2 separate regions of the Homo sapiens genome follow, and region 1 is linked to region 2. The links are contacts of gene promoters, found by promoter capture Hi-C in blood cells and fetal thymus (Javierre and others, 2016). All regions are on one chromosome and are shown on one strand. Each heading gives the region's core, a stretch centred on a gene start or on the middle of the fragment in contact. The rest is flanking DNA. Distances are from core to core; before and after follow the strand shown.

What was found. Contacts are between HindIII fragments. The CHiCAGO score rates a contact against its expected background, and 5 or more counts as called.
Region 1: a contact is called between a fragment that was not itself captured here and the fragment with the promoter of C11orf58 in region 2, in 1 of 17 cell types (M0 macrophages). The highest score is 6.8, in M0 macrophages.

The regions. Positions count from the first base shown.
Region 1 is chr11:5,690,590-5,696,540 of GRCh38, forward strand. It overlaps TRIM22 (tripartite motif containing 22), which reads left to right. Exons shown (of 8, transcript NM_006074.5): 2 at 5,578-5,951. The coding sequence starts at 5,644. It overlaps LOC124902620 (a long non-coding RNA gene), which reads right to left and starts at 2,165. Exons shown (of 2, transcript XR_007062561.1): 1 at 89-2,165. RefSeq lists enhancers at 1-505, 1-20. The HindIII fragment of the contact is 3,669 bases long and covers 2,645-5,951 here.
Region 2 is chr11:16,737,274-16,743,175 of GRCh38, forward strand. It overlaps C11orf58 (chromosome 11 open reading frame 58), which reads left to right and starts at 1,374. Exons shown (of 5, transcript NM_014267.6): 1 at 1,374-1,568. The coding sequence starts at 1,506. It also overlaps a transcript of SOX6 not described here. RefSeq lists an enhancer at 1,248-1,877. The HindIII fragment of the contact is 4,072 bases long and covers 283-4,354 here.

The DNA.
Region 1 (5,951 bases), core at 3,229-5,728, about 11 Mb before region 2:
GAAGAGAAGAAAAGTGAAGTGGGGAGGGGCACTGTGAATTAAAGAATAAAGGATTGATCAGGCTATTTGAAGAGAAACCTTATCATACCCCACATTCCTATTCTGTCATTTTGATTTTTCCATTTTGCCAACGTGGATCAGAATTTTCTTTTATTCAGAGGCAGCAAATTCCTTCCTCCTTTCTCCCGAAGAAGCCTGTGCAATGAAGCTTTGTTTTCACTTTTCATAAAGCAACCTCATGATGAGGTTCAGCAGGGATGAGAGCCCTTATCTGGATCTGGGTATGAGGCGAAGGAGTCTTAGGTACTCAGTCTTCAGAAGTAAGGCCCTTTTGAAGGTTATCCTTTTACTTGCCTTCTGGTAACTTTTTGGATGCTGTCCATAGCTTTCCTGATAAATTAGCAGCCCTCTGGTTAGTCCGAGGAGAGAGGCCGCAGGACGGGCAGACTGCTGCTCATCTCTGCAGCTCCACTTTGGTCTCTTGTCTCTGAAGGTCCAGTCACAGGGAACTTGTTCTTCTGAGTACCCACAGCTTACTCTTCCTTTGTAGCAGGACCAGCCACAGAAAAAACTCCTCAGACACCGAGGTAAAGAAGGAAGGGGTTTATTCGGCCAGGGGCATAGGCAAGACTCCTGTCTCAAGAGCCGAGCTCCTCGAGTGAGCAATTCCTGTCCCTTTTAAGGGCTCACAACTCTAAGGGGGTCCGCGTGAGAGGGTCGTGATCGATTGAGCAAGCAGGGGGTACGTGACTGGGGGCTGCATACACCGGTAATTAGATCGGAACAAAACAGAGTAGGGATTTTCACAGTGCTTTTCTATACAATGTCTGGAATCTATAGATAACAAACCAATTAGGTCAGGGGTCCATCTTTAACTACCAGGTCCAGGGTGTGGCCCCGGGCTGTCTGCTTGTGGATTTCATTTCTGCCTTTTAGTTTTTACTTTTTCTTTCTTTGGAGGCAGAAATTGGGCATAAGACAATATGAGAGGTGGTCTCCTCCCTCAACTTCTGTAGCACCCAATGAACCTCTGGTATCCACTCCTGTTTTAGAAGTTGCTATTATTCTAGGTACACCTTTTCATCATGAGTTACCTCAACTCCCTACTCAATTTTCCCTTGCACAGAGCTAAGGCAAGGAGTTGGTAATTTCTCCTGAGTCTTATCTCGATCTTATCGCTGAGCATTTTGTACCTTGATGCCTATGTCACCCATATTCTGATGTGTCCTTTTCTTTGTTTCACTTTTCAGAGGTCCAGGTAACTGTCTCCTTATGTGTCTGTACCGCACATCTTGTCAAGGTCCATATCTAGTATTTATTCATTGTCAAGTCTAGTACAGGACCCAATAAATAAAACTGTACTTTTAATTTTTGAAAAATATTTTTGACTAAATTCACAAAACAAAAGCATACAGGTATAGTAAAAAAACAAAAACAAAAACAAAAAAACTATCTATTCGATATATAATCAACATTAAATACCGGTAAGAGATTATGCTCTGGACTAGGGAAAAGGAAGTAAACACGCAGTCAAAAAAAGGAAGTAAACCAGCAGTTTTAATGTAGCAAAAAGGTAGCAGTTACTAGAGGATAAATGTAAAACCAATAAAACAAAAGCAACAAACTAAAAGGGCTGCAATAGGATGTGGTATCTGTAGTGCTCTTGTCAAGGGCTTTGCAACTTTAAATAGATTTCACATTAGGTCTCACTGTGAGACAATGATTTTGAGCAGTCTTCAATAAAATGATGGATTTAAGAACTGATGAACTAACTGTGAGAGAAAGAGATGACACTGGGGTAGCTTTATGAAATCTGTCCTCTGTTACAAAATGACTTATCTGAAACATATTGACCAGAGAGTTAGAACTCTTGGAAAAAGGGTCATTACTTGGGGAAAACTAAACCCTGGACATTTTAGTGGGTCATTGAAAAAGGAACTCTGAGTTTAGACAAATAAGAAGTGGTAACGGTGTTTCTGAGTTCTCCAGGTTTCTGCATGCCAAGAACAGGACCTATTTTCTCCATTGGTAGTTCCTGACCCAAGGAACAGGGGAAATTTAAAAGATGTTGGCTAGGCCAGGCACCTGGTGGCTTGTGCCAAAGCCTAGCCAAAAATCCCAGCACTTTGGGAAGCCAAGACTGGAGGACTGCTTGAGTTGAGGAGTTTGAGACCAGCCTGGGCAACGCAGTGAGACCTTGTCTCAAAAAAAAAAAAAAAAGATATTGATGGCTAAACCCCTTATAATTTTTCTCCTTATTGTGTAGCCACACTAATTTAATTTAATCTTTTTTTTTTTTTTTCTTTTGACGGAGTCTTGCTCTGTTGCCAGGCTGGAGTGCAGTGGTGTGATCTCAGCTCACTGCAACCTCCGCCTCCTGGGTTCAAGTGATTCTCCTGCCTCAGCCTCCAGAGTAGCGGGGACTACAAGCAACTGCTGTCACACCTGGCTAATGTTTGTATATATATATATTTTTTAGTAGATACGGGGTCTCACCATAGTGGCCAGGCTGGCCTCAAACTCCTGACCTCAGGTAATCTGCCCGCCTCGGCCCCCCAAACTGCTGGGATTACAGGCTTGAGCCACAGCGCCTGGCCATCTTTTTTTTTTTTTTTTTTTTGATTTAAATTGCACAGATAAAGAAAGCTTCTGTGCAGGTAATCAGAGTATTCTGAAACAAGGAAGCTACGGACCTAGTTAGCCTTCACCGTGTCATAGAAACTTCTACATTCGCACCACCTTCAAAGGGGAGCATGCATTTTGTTTATGTGTCTGTCTGTCTACCTGTCTTAGGTCGGAAGGGTTTCAATGGGGCTACATTTCTTCAATGTTAGAATAAAGAATGAATAGGCCGGGCGCGGTGGCTCACGCCAGTAATCCCAGCACTTTGGGAGGCCGAGGCGGGCAGATCATGAGGTCCGGAGATCGAGACCATCCTGGCTAACACAGTGAAACCCCGTCTCTACTAAAAAGACACCAAAAAATCACCCGGGTGTGGTGGCGGGCGCCTGTAGTCCCAGCTACTTGGAGGCTGAGGCAGGAGAATGGCGTGAACCCGAGAGGCGGAGCTGGCAAGGAGCCGAGATCGCACCACTGCACTCCAGCCTGGGTGACAGAGTGAGACTCCGTCTCAAAAAAAAAAAAAAAAAAAAAAGAATGAATAAATCAAGAAAAATAAGCACTTGTATTAGTTTTCTAGAGCTGTCATAGAAAAAGTACCAAAAGTGGTTGGCTTAAATAGCAGAAATATATTGCCTTACAATTCTGGAGGCTAGTTATCCAAGATAAAATGTGTTGACAGGGCTGGTTCCTTCTGAAGGCTATGAAGGAGGCCTCTGGTCCATGCCTCTCTTCTAGCTTCTAATAGTTTCCTGGAAACCTTTAGCATTCCTTGGCTTATAGGTGCATCACCCTGATCTCTGCTTTCTTCTTCACCCTGGCATATTCCTTGTGTATAAATGTCCCTTTTTGATAAGGACACAGTCATGTTGGATAAGGGTCTACCCTAATGAGCACATGGTAACTAAATAGTATTTAAATATACTAGTTTCAAATAAGAGCACATTCACACATTAGGATTTCAACATCATTTGGGGAGAAACAGGACAGACTTTATCTCTCTGCTACATATTCTCAATGTACTTGGCCTCCTTTATGGATTGAGACTTTTCTCCCATGACCAACAGATGTTTCTTTGAAATGTATATTGAGTCTATATCATGTGTGTGATCCTATAACTATTTTAGCCTCTTTTCCTCTTCCCAAAATATATACATCTTTAGGTTCCTATCACCATCCTTGCCATATGTCCAGGCCAAGGTGAAATTTCAACATTTAAAACCACAGCATGCCCCAGAACTACATAGCTGGTCTGGATCTCTCCATTTCTATACCCCCAATAGCACTGGGTATCAGTATAGCTCTTGTAGCCTTTACCTTTGTTGTCTGTATAAATCTGTGCTGCAGTGGAGAGAACTCTGAAGGAGGACCTTGGGGACAATACATTCACTCTTACTCTACCTATTAGATTAGAATGAGTGATCTTTGTAAGTCACTTGATTCTATTGACACACCTGAAGAAAGGGAGTATTCTTATTTCTCAAGGGTTTTGTATGAAGAATAAAGAAGTCAAAATGATTTCTAAATTGTAACTGCTTATAAAATTGTTCATGATAAAATTATTTTCCTATTATGGTGTTGGTGGTGGTGGTGTGTGGGTGTGTGTGTATGTCTTTGGGGATGGAGTGTGAGGTCATGGGAGGACTTGCTATGGGTAGATGTGTTAGGATGTAAACACTTCTTCACTGGAAACCATAATTGTGGTCCCAAAGGTCAGCTATTGGGAAACTGCTAATTGATGGAAAGAAAAGATGAAAATCTGATTAAAAGGTCTAATCATCTATGGAGGGATAAGGAAGTTGTGGCTTTATATATTCGTTAAATGTTTTATTCCTGTATGTGATTCACTTTTCTAGGTATAGAGGACATATCAGTGAACAAAAAAAGTCCCAGGTCTATGAATGGATTACTTTTCAGGAGGAAGAAGTAGACATTTAAAGAACAATCTTATATATTACATAGTAAAAATAAGAAGCTAAATGTGCAGTGAGTGACAGTACTGGTGGTTTTGCTATAAGTAAATTATAGTATGTCCTTCTAAGAAGAGGACTTCTAAGAGGAGACTGAATTAAATGTAAGAGTGAGTCTTGCTAACATCAGGGGGAGGATCATTTTATGCAGAGAGAGGAGCAAGTGCAAAAGCCTTGAGGAGCCATAGATTTGATAGTTTAATTGAGGAGGTATTTTTTACATGGGGAAAAAAGTCAGAGGAGATAAACCTTAACAGTATAAGTAAAATAATTCAGACACCAAAGACATATATTATGATTCTATTTTTATCAACTGATTAAAAACCCAAAGGATATTAGTAGTGGTTGCCTGGAGCTTGGGATCAGAATAGGAGTGATGGCATTAGGGTTTTTTTTTTTCAGGTGATAAAAATAATTTTAAATTGGGTTACAGTAATAGTTATATAGTTCCACAGATTTACTAGAAATTATTGCATGATACACTTAAAAATGATGTTTGATGCAGTGTTTGATGCTATGTAAATACAATTCAATAGCTTAAAAATATGCAAATATTCATGAATCATGCAAATATTGGGGATACAATCATGCCATTCAGAGAGAAAAGCCTGTGTGCAAGCCCAGGGGCAGGGGTGTGTTTAGTGCATTTAACATGGAAAATGTGTTTTGGGTTGGGGAACAAAAGGCAGGACAAATGATGGGTTACACGAAGCTCTTGGTAGAAGAGCCTCAGTTTGTCCTCTCCAGTAGAAGAGAAAATAACAATAATTGCCTTGATGGGGTGAAATTTGTCCTGAGACAAAAATTAAGAATAAAGTGTTTGAAATTACTACAAAGTCCATTTTATTCTGTCATTGGTTTATTCTTCATGCCTTTCTTTTCTCCTTTCTCTGTTAAATATTAATGTTTTGTCCTGTTCTAAATCTCTGTAAAAGCAGTATTCTTTCTATTCCTTCTTTTCTTACCCTGTCCCCTTCAACATTCTCAGCACTGCAGGAGTTTGTGACCAAGAACTTCAAGAGTCAAGACAGAAGGAAGCCAAGGGAGCAGTGCAATGGATTTCTCAGTAAAGGTAGACATAGAGAAGGAGGTGACCTGCCCCATCTGCCTGGAGCTCCTGACAGAACCTCTGAGCCTAGATTGTGGCCACAGCTTCTGCCAAGCCTGCATCACTGCAAAGATCAAGGAGTCAGTGATCATCTCAAGAGGGGAAAGCAGCTGTCCTGTGTGTCAGACCAGATTCCAGCCTGGGAACCTCCGACCTAATCGGCATCTGGCCAACATAGTTGAGAGAGTCAAAGAGGTCAAGATGAGCCCACAGGAGGGGCAGAAGAGAGATGTCTGTGAGCACCATGGAAAAAA
Region 2 (5,902 bases), core at 124-2,623:
TTGGGTCGCTGAAACCTCCGCCTCCCGGGTTCAAGCGATTCTCCTGCCTCAGCCTCCCGAGTAGCTGGGATTAGAGGCATGTGCCATCATGCCAGGCTAATTTTTGTATTTTTAGTAGAGACGTGGTTTCACCATGTTGATCAGGCTGGTCTCGAACTCCTGACCTCGTGATCCACCCGCCTCAGCCTCCCAAAATGCTGGGGATTACAGGCCTGAGCCATGGCGCCAGGCCTAATTTTTGCTTAAAAAAAAAAAAAATCACATTTGTATTCAAGGTGAGAAAGCTTCAGAATTATTAAGGACAAGGATTCTGACAGAAAGTTAAGTTCAGACCTGGTTACAAATTCAGACACCTTAATAAAGTAGGAGATAGTCTTCAGTATCTGAACAATAAATAGCTTTAAATGCAGGGCTTTTTGAGTAGAGGAGTGATCACTTGAATCTGGAGAGAGGGCGAGAAATGGGGAGGGATTGCTAACGGGCATTGGGGTTCCTTTTGGAGTGGTGAAACTTCTTGGAATCAGAGGTGACAGCTGCACACGATTGTGAATGTACTAAGTGACAGTGGATTGTACACTTTTTAAAAAATGGTTAATTTTATATGTGAATTTAACCTCAATAATTACTTTTTTTAAAAAAGAAAAAAAATAGAGGCTTTTGTGGCAGGGATGGACTTTGCTTGGTGAAGGCCCCTACTGTAACGGTGCCCAGACATCCACAGCGAGGTCAGTGAGGAGCACTCCCACCTCACACAAAGCCATATGAAAACTTAACAGATTTCCCTCAGCTAAATCCCCGTTTTCAACAACCGCCAATTAGCCAACATTTAACAACATACTGAACTCATTTCTGTATGGGAAAACAGCGAAATATTCATGAAAACATTTAGAAAGCAGCATCACCGACCACCTAGAAATCCCCTGCGCGCAATAGAGAACACCAGGGTGGAAATGGTAGAAGCCATTTTTGGTTAAGGTTTTTGTCCTGGGTGGAGGGTATTCGTGAGGATTCAGTCAGCCTCAAACATTACATTTAAACATAGGTGCCTAGCTACGATGATACATTTGCCAGTAGGGCAGCGTTGCACGGTGAAAGGCAAAAACCCCTCTAAGCCTCCTCCTGTGGCGACAAAGCTCTCGGCCAACGCTCACCGCCATACACATCCGCGGGAACGCTTCCTCCACCAGCCGAAGGCGGGGCCTCTGAGGGCACTCCCGCCACACAGCGCGAATTGAGCCTCGGGGCTTCCTGGGAATTGTAGTTTTAGTCACGGACACATCTTTTTTATTCGGGCCAGTATGCAATGAATCAGAAAACTACAACTCCCAAAGTGCCCCGGGGCGGCGAGGGGCCGCAACGGTGACGACTGTGGCAGAGAAGGCCCGGAGGGGCTCTGCGTTCTGTAGTGGCGCTGCTTGGGCCCTTGGCGGATTGTAAGCTGCTGGTTTTGCGGCTGGGAAGAGCGGCGAGAGGGTTCGGCATTTTTCGTCGGGATCCCCGCAAGGATGAGTGCTGCCAGAGAGTCTCACCCGCATGGGGTGAAGCGTTCAGCCTCCCCAGACGACGATGTAAATAATAATGGCGGAGTGGCTGAGGGTTGAGGCCTACTAAAGCCTGGAGTAGGCCGGGAAGGGTGGTTGGAGGAGGACGCGCCTGAGGTGGCCTGCAGCGGGAGAGCCCAGGGAAGAAACCAGAAGAATGAGTGGGAAATGCCTCCCTTAATCTTTATGAGGGTCAGAAGGTTTGAAGAGGCCCACACGCTGAGAGCCGGAGACCTGCGTAGGAAGGGGGATTGAGGAAGGAAATTCTGAGAGGGTCGAGGAGTGAAAGAGCTTAGTCAAGGGATTTCGTACGTGCGTTTTGGGGGGCCGATGAGAGTGCTTTCTCGGGCCTTTGTACTCAGTATAGAGACGGCAAGACTCTCCCTGTTTTGGGTTCTAAATGTTCCCGTGACAATGTCGAAATGTTCGTGCACGTTTGTACAGATTTTTCCTGCCTGGATGATTTTTACAATGTGCTGTTGAGAGTTAACTTTAGCTGCACTAGTAAGGGTAAACCGAGAACAGTATTGAGCCGAAAATTGTGCCACGGGTGTAATTTGGTACTGGCTCTGGTGGTGAGGTCTAAGACGTTGAGACCTAGAAGCCCATTTTGATGTCGGATATTAATACCTCGTTCTTCTTACCTCGTCTCCCCATCAAATGCCGTTCCCTTCCTCAGCCCTCACCTCATAGGTTTTAATAGCAAACGGTTTATCCCTTAAAGTAACCCGTTAAATATTTACTGCACTGCCGGGTGTTGGGAATTCGGAGAGAAATATGATGCTTATTTTAGGCCTTTTTGTATATTTGTCCTAGCTCCTAGCCCAGTGTCATGGAAACGGTAGGTAACCAGTAAACGTAAAACTAGGTCCTTCATACAATGGATAAGTGTCTTGGCAACGTTGATGGGGAAAATTGTTGGAGAGAGCGCGGAGAGGTCATCTTTAAGGAAGATGAAGGGATATCTAGGTTTTTTTTCGGTTTTGTTTAAAGTACTGTCAATTTCTGAATACATAGAGCTTTAAATTTTTCGATAGTGCATTTCAACGCTCTTCATAAAATTTTAAAAGCCCACTGAATACTACTTTGTAGCAAATGAGATAATGTTAAGACCTACCCCTCTGATGGGAGGTGGGGCGAGGACCGGAATATTAAGGATCTTTAAAGGAATCGACTTCAGCTCTGCAGAAAGATTAGCAATCAGTAAAGATTTGGGGATGAATGGGCACCTAGAGAAGTTTATTCTTGCTCTCTGTTATTTCTGCTACTGGATTTTAGATCTTGTTAATATGGTAATTCAGGTTTTGTCAGGAATTGATCCACACTTTTGAGTAACCTGGCTGCCACTTAAAAAGCTGTTACATTGTTTTCCTCCTGATCTTTAAATGTGACTTGATTGCTAGGATATCAGACACCTGTTTGGAAATATCTTTTAGCGTGACAGAAAACTCCAGGTGATATGAAATTTAACAAAGTTAAAGGGATTAAGTCATTAAGTTTACAGCTTCGGAAGAGGTCGGTTTAAACTAGACGACCTTGAAGACCTTTCCCAATCATATAAGCGTATCTTTAAGTACCTGGGTTTTGTTTTTGTTTTGAGACAGGTGAGACAGGGTCTCTGTCGCCCAGGCTGGAGTGCAGTGGCACGATCGATCAGTGCTCCCTGCAGCCTCCACCTCCCTGGCTCAGGTGATCCTCCTGCTTCAACCCCCTCTTCCCCCACCACCACTACAGTAGCTCGGACTACAGGTGTGCACCATTACACCCGACTAATTTTTTGTATTTTTAGTAGAGACCAGATTTTGCCACATTGCCCAGGCTGGTCTCCAACTACTAGACCCAAGCGATCTGCCCACCTCGGCCTCCCAAAGTGCTGGAATTACAGGTGTGAGCCACCTCGCCCAGCCAGTACTTAAAAAAAAAATTTTTTTAACCATAAGTAATGCATTCATTAAAATACCTCCAAGCTGTTGCAGAAAAAAAAAAAAAAACTAGCAGGCCGGGCGCGGTGGCTCACTCCTGTAATCCCAACACTTTGGGAGGCCAAGGCAGGCGGATCACGAGGTCAGGAGATCCAAACCATCCTGGCTAACACAGTGAAACCCCGCCTCTACTAAAAAAATACAAAAAAATTAACCGGGCGTGGTAGCGGGCGCCTGTAGTCCCAGCTACTAGGGAGGCTGAGGCAGGAGAATGGCGTGAACCCGGGAGGCGGAGCTTGCAGTGAGCCAAGATGGCGCCACTGCACTCCAGCCTGGGCGACAGAGCGAGACTCTGTTTAAAAAAAAAAAAAAAAAAATCTAGTTATAATATATAGTTGGGAAACAGTTTCTAATGAGCATCCACGGTATGTGAGAGATCATTGAAGTTTTCTTATGCCCATTGACCTCACATCTAATTGAGGTAACAAAACATTTTTTTACTATTAAAAGTAGATACTAAATCACAATACAACTCTAGAAAAACGCTAACAATGTAGGAGTAAATTCTAAGAGTCACCAGGTTATGTATTGAGGAGGTAAATTGATTGCAGTTCTGTAGTAAAGGGTATTAAGGATGAAAACAACTTAAAAGTCGTTTCATTGGCTTGGAGTGGAGAAATGAAAGCTATCTTATAGGAAGTGGGAAGAGTGGGGAGGTAAATTTTAGTAACTGCTAAGGAACTCTCTTAAAATGTATAGTGCACCCACGTGCTTTTCAGAATGCAGCATTTGGGCAAGTACTCACTGTTGTACTTTAAGGCAGGGCTCTCCAACCCCTGGGCCACAGAACCAGGCTGCACAGCAGGACGTGAGCTGTGGGCCAGCCAGCAAAGCTTCATCTGTATTTACAGCCACTCCCCTTGGCTTGCATTACCACCTGAGCTCTGCCTCCTGTTGGCATTTGATTCTTATAAGAGCGTGAACCCTGGTGTGAACTGCACATGCGAGTGATCTAGGTTGCACACTCCTTATGAGAATCTAATGCCAGATGATCTGTCATTGTCTCCCATTACCCCCCAGATGGGACTGTCTAGTTTTAGGAAAACAAGCTCAAAGCTTCCATTGAGTCTACATTATGGTGAGTTGTATAATTATTTCATTATAGATTACAGTGTAGTAATAATAGAAATAAAGTGCCCAATAAATGTAATGCACTTGAATCATCCTGAAACCATCACATCCTCCCTCTCAGTGGAAAAATTGTCTTCCACGAAACTGGTCCCTGATGCCAGTCTGGTCCTGGAGTGCTGCTTTAAGGTCTTTGAAAAGAAGAACTGGCAGGACTTAATGTTATTTCCTTAAAACATTGGGATTAGAAGTTGTAGATGACAGTTATTTATATAAACACTGAAAATGTTTTTTAATAGAAGCAGAATCAAGAAAGTTGGTTTTTACACAATTTTTTAACTTCTATACATTTTTATAACTAGTTCATAGACCACTTTCATCTGTCTCATTTGATCATGGACAGTATGATGTGGAAAAAACACAGGATGGTCAGAGGATCAAAGGAAGTCACTTAGCCTCTCTGTGCCTCAGTGTCTTAAGACAGTCTTTTAAAAAGGCATCTCTTTATAGATAAGGAGTTAAAATTAAGTTAAATGTCAGATCCTGGCTTACAGAGCAAGTGATTTAGTGATTGTCAGAACTGAAGCTTCACCATTACTTTAACTATATTGAGCCAGAAATAGTTAAGAACTAAATGGCCCATAAAAATATATGAGGGGGGTCACATGGAAAAAAGTAGAGATTTGGAACTTAGGGAACCAAAATTATGAGAGCATATAAGCCCTTCCACTAATGAGAATTTAGAAGTGCAAATGGGTCCAGGTTGGTACAAATGCTTTAACTCTCATATGCCCAGGGGAAATAGTGGTTTTTTTAAATATTCTTTTAGTCTTTTACAAATAATTTTTAGAAATAATAATGGGAGATAGTGCAAAACAACTTTATTAGGAATTTTAATGTGAATTTAACAATAGCAAACCGAAATTTATATTCTTTGTTTTCCTGATTTTGATGTACATATAGTCATCCTTCAGTATGCTAAATGTGGGGGATTGGTTCCAGGACCCACCCACCTCTTTGGCAAATCTTGCATACTCAAGTTCTGCAGCCAGCCCTGTGGAACCTGAGAATAGGAAAAATCAGCCTTCCATATACTTGGGATGGATCTGCATTTGGTTGAAAAAAATCCACTTATAAGGGACCCTTGAAGTTCAAACCTGTCTCGGATTTGCATCATCAAAATACAATACTTGAGGAATTTTTGAAACCTATTGCTTACAATTTTGTAATTGTCATCCTTGCTCCATAATTGCAAAACATTTTTATTTTTAGATTATAAACTTAATTAGAATGATAAATTCGGTGAATATT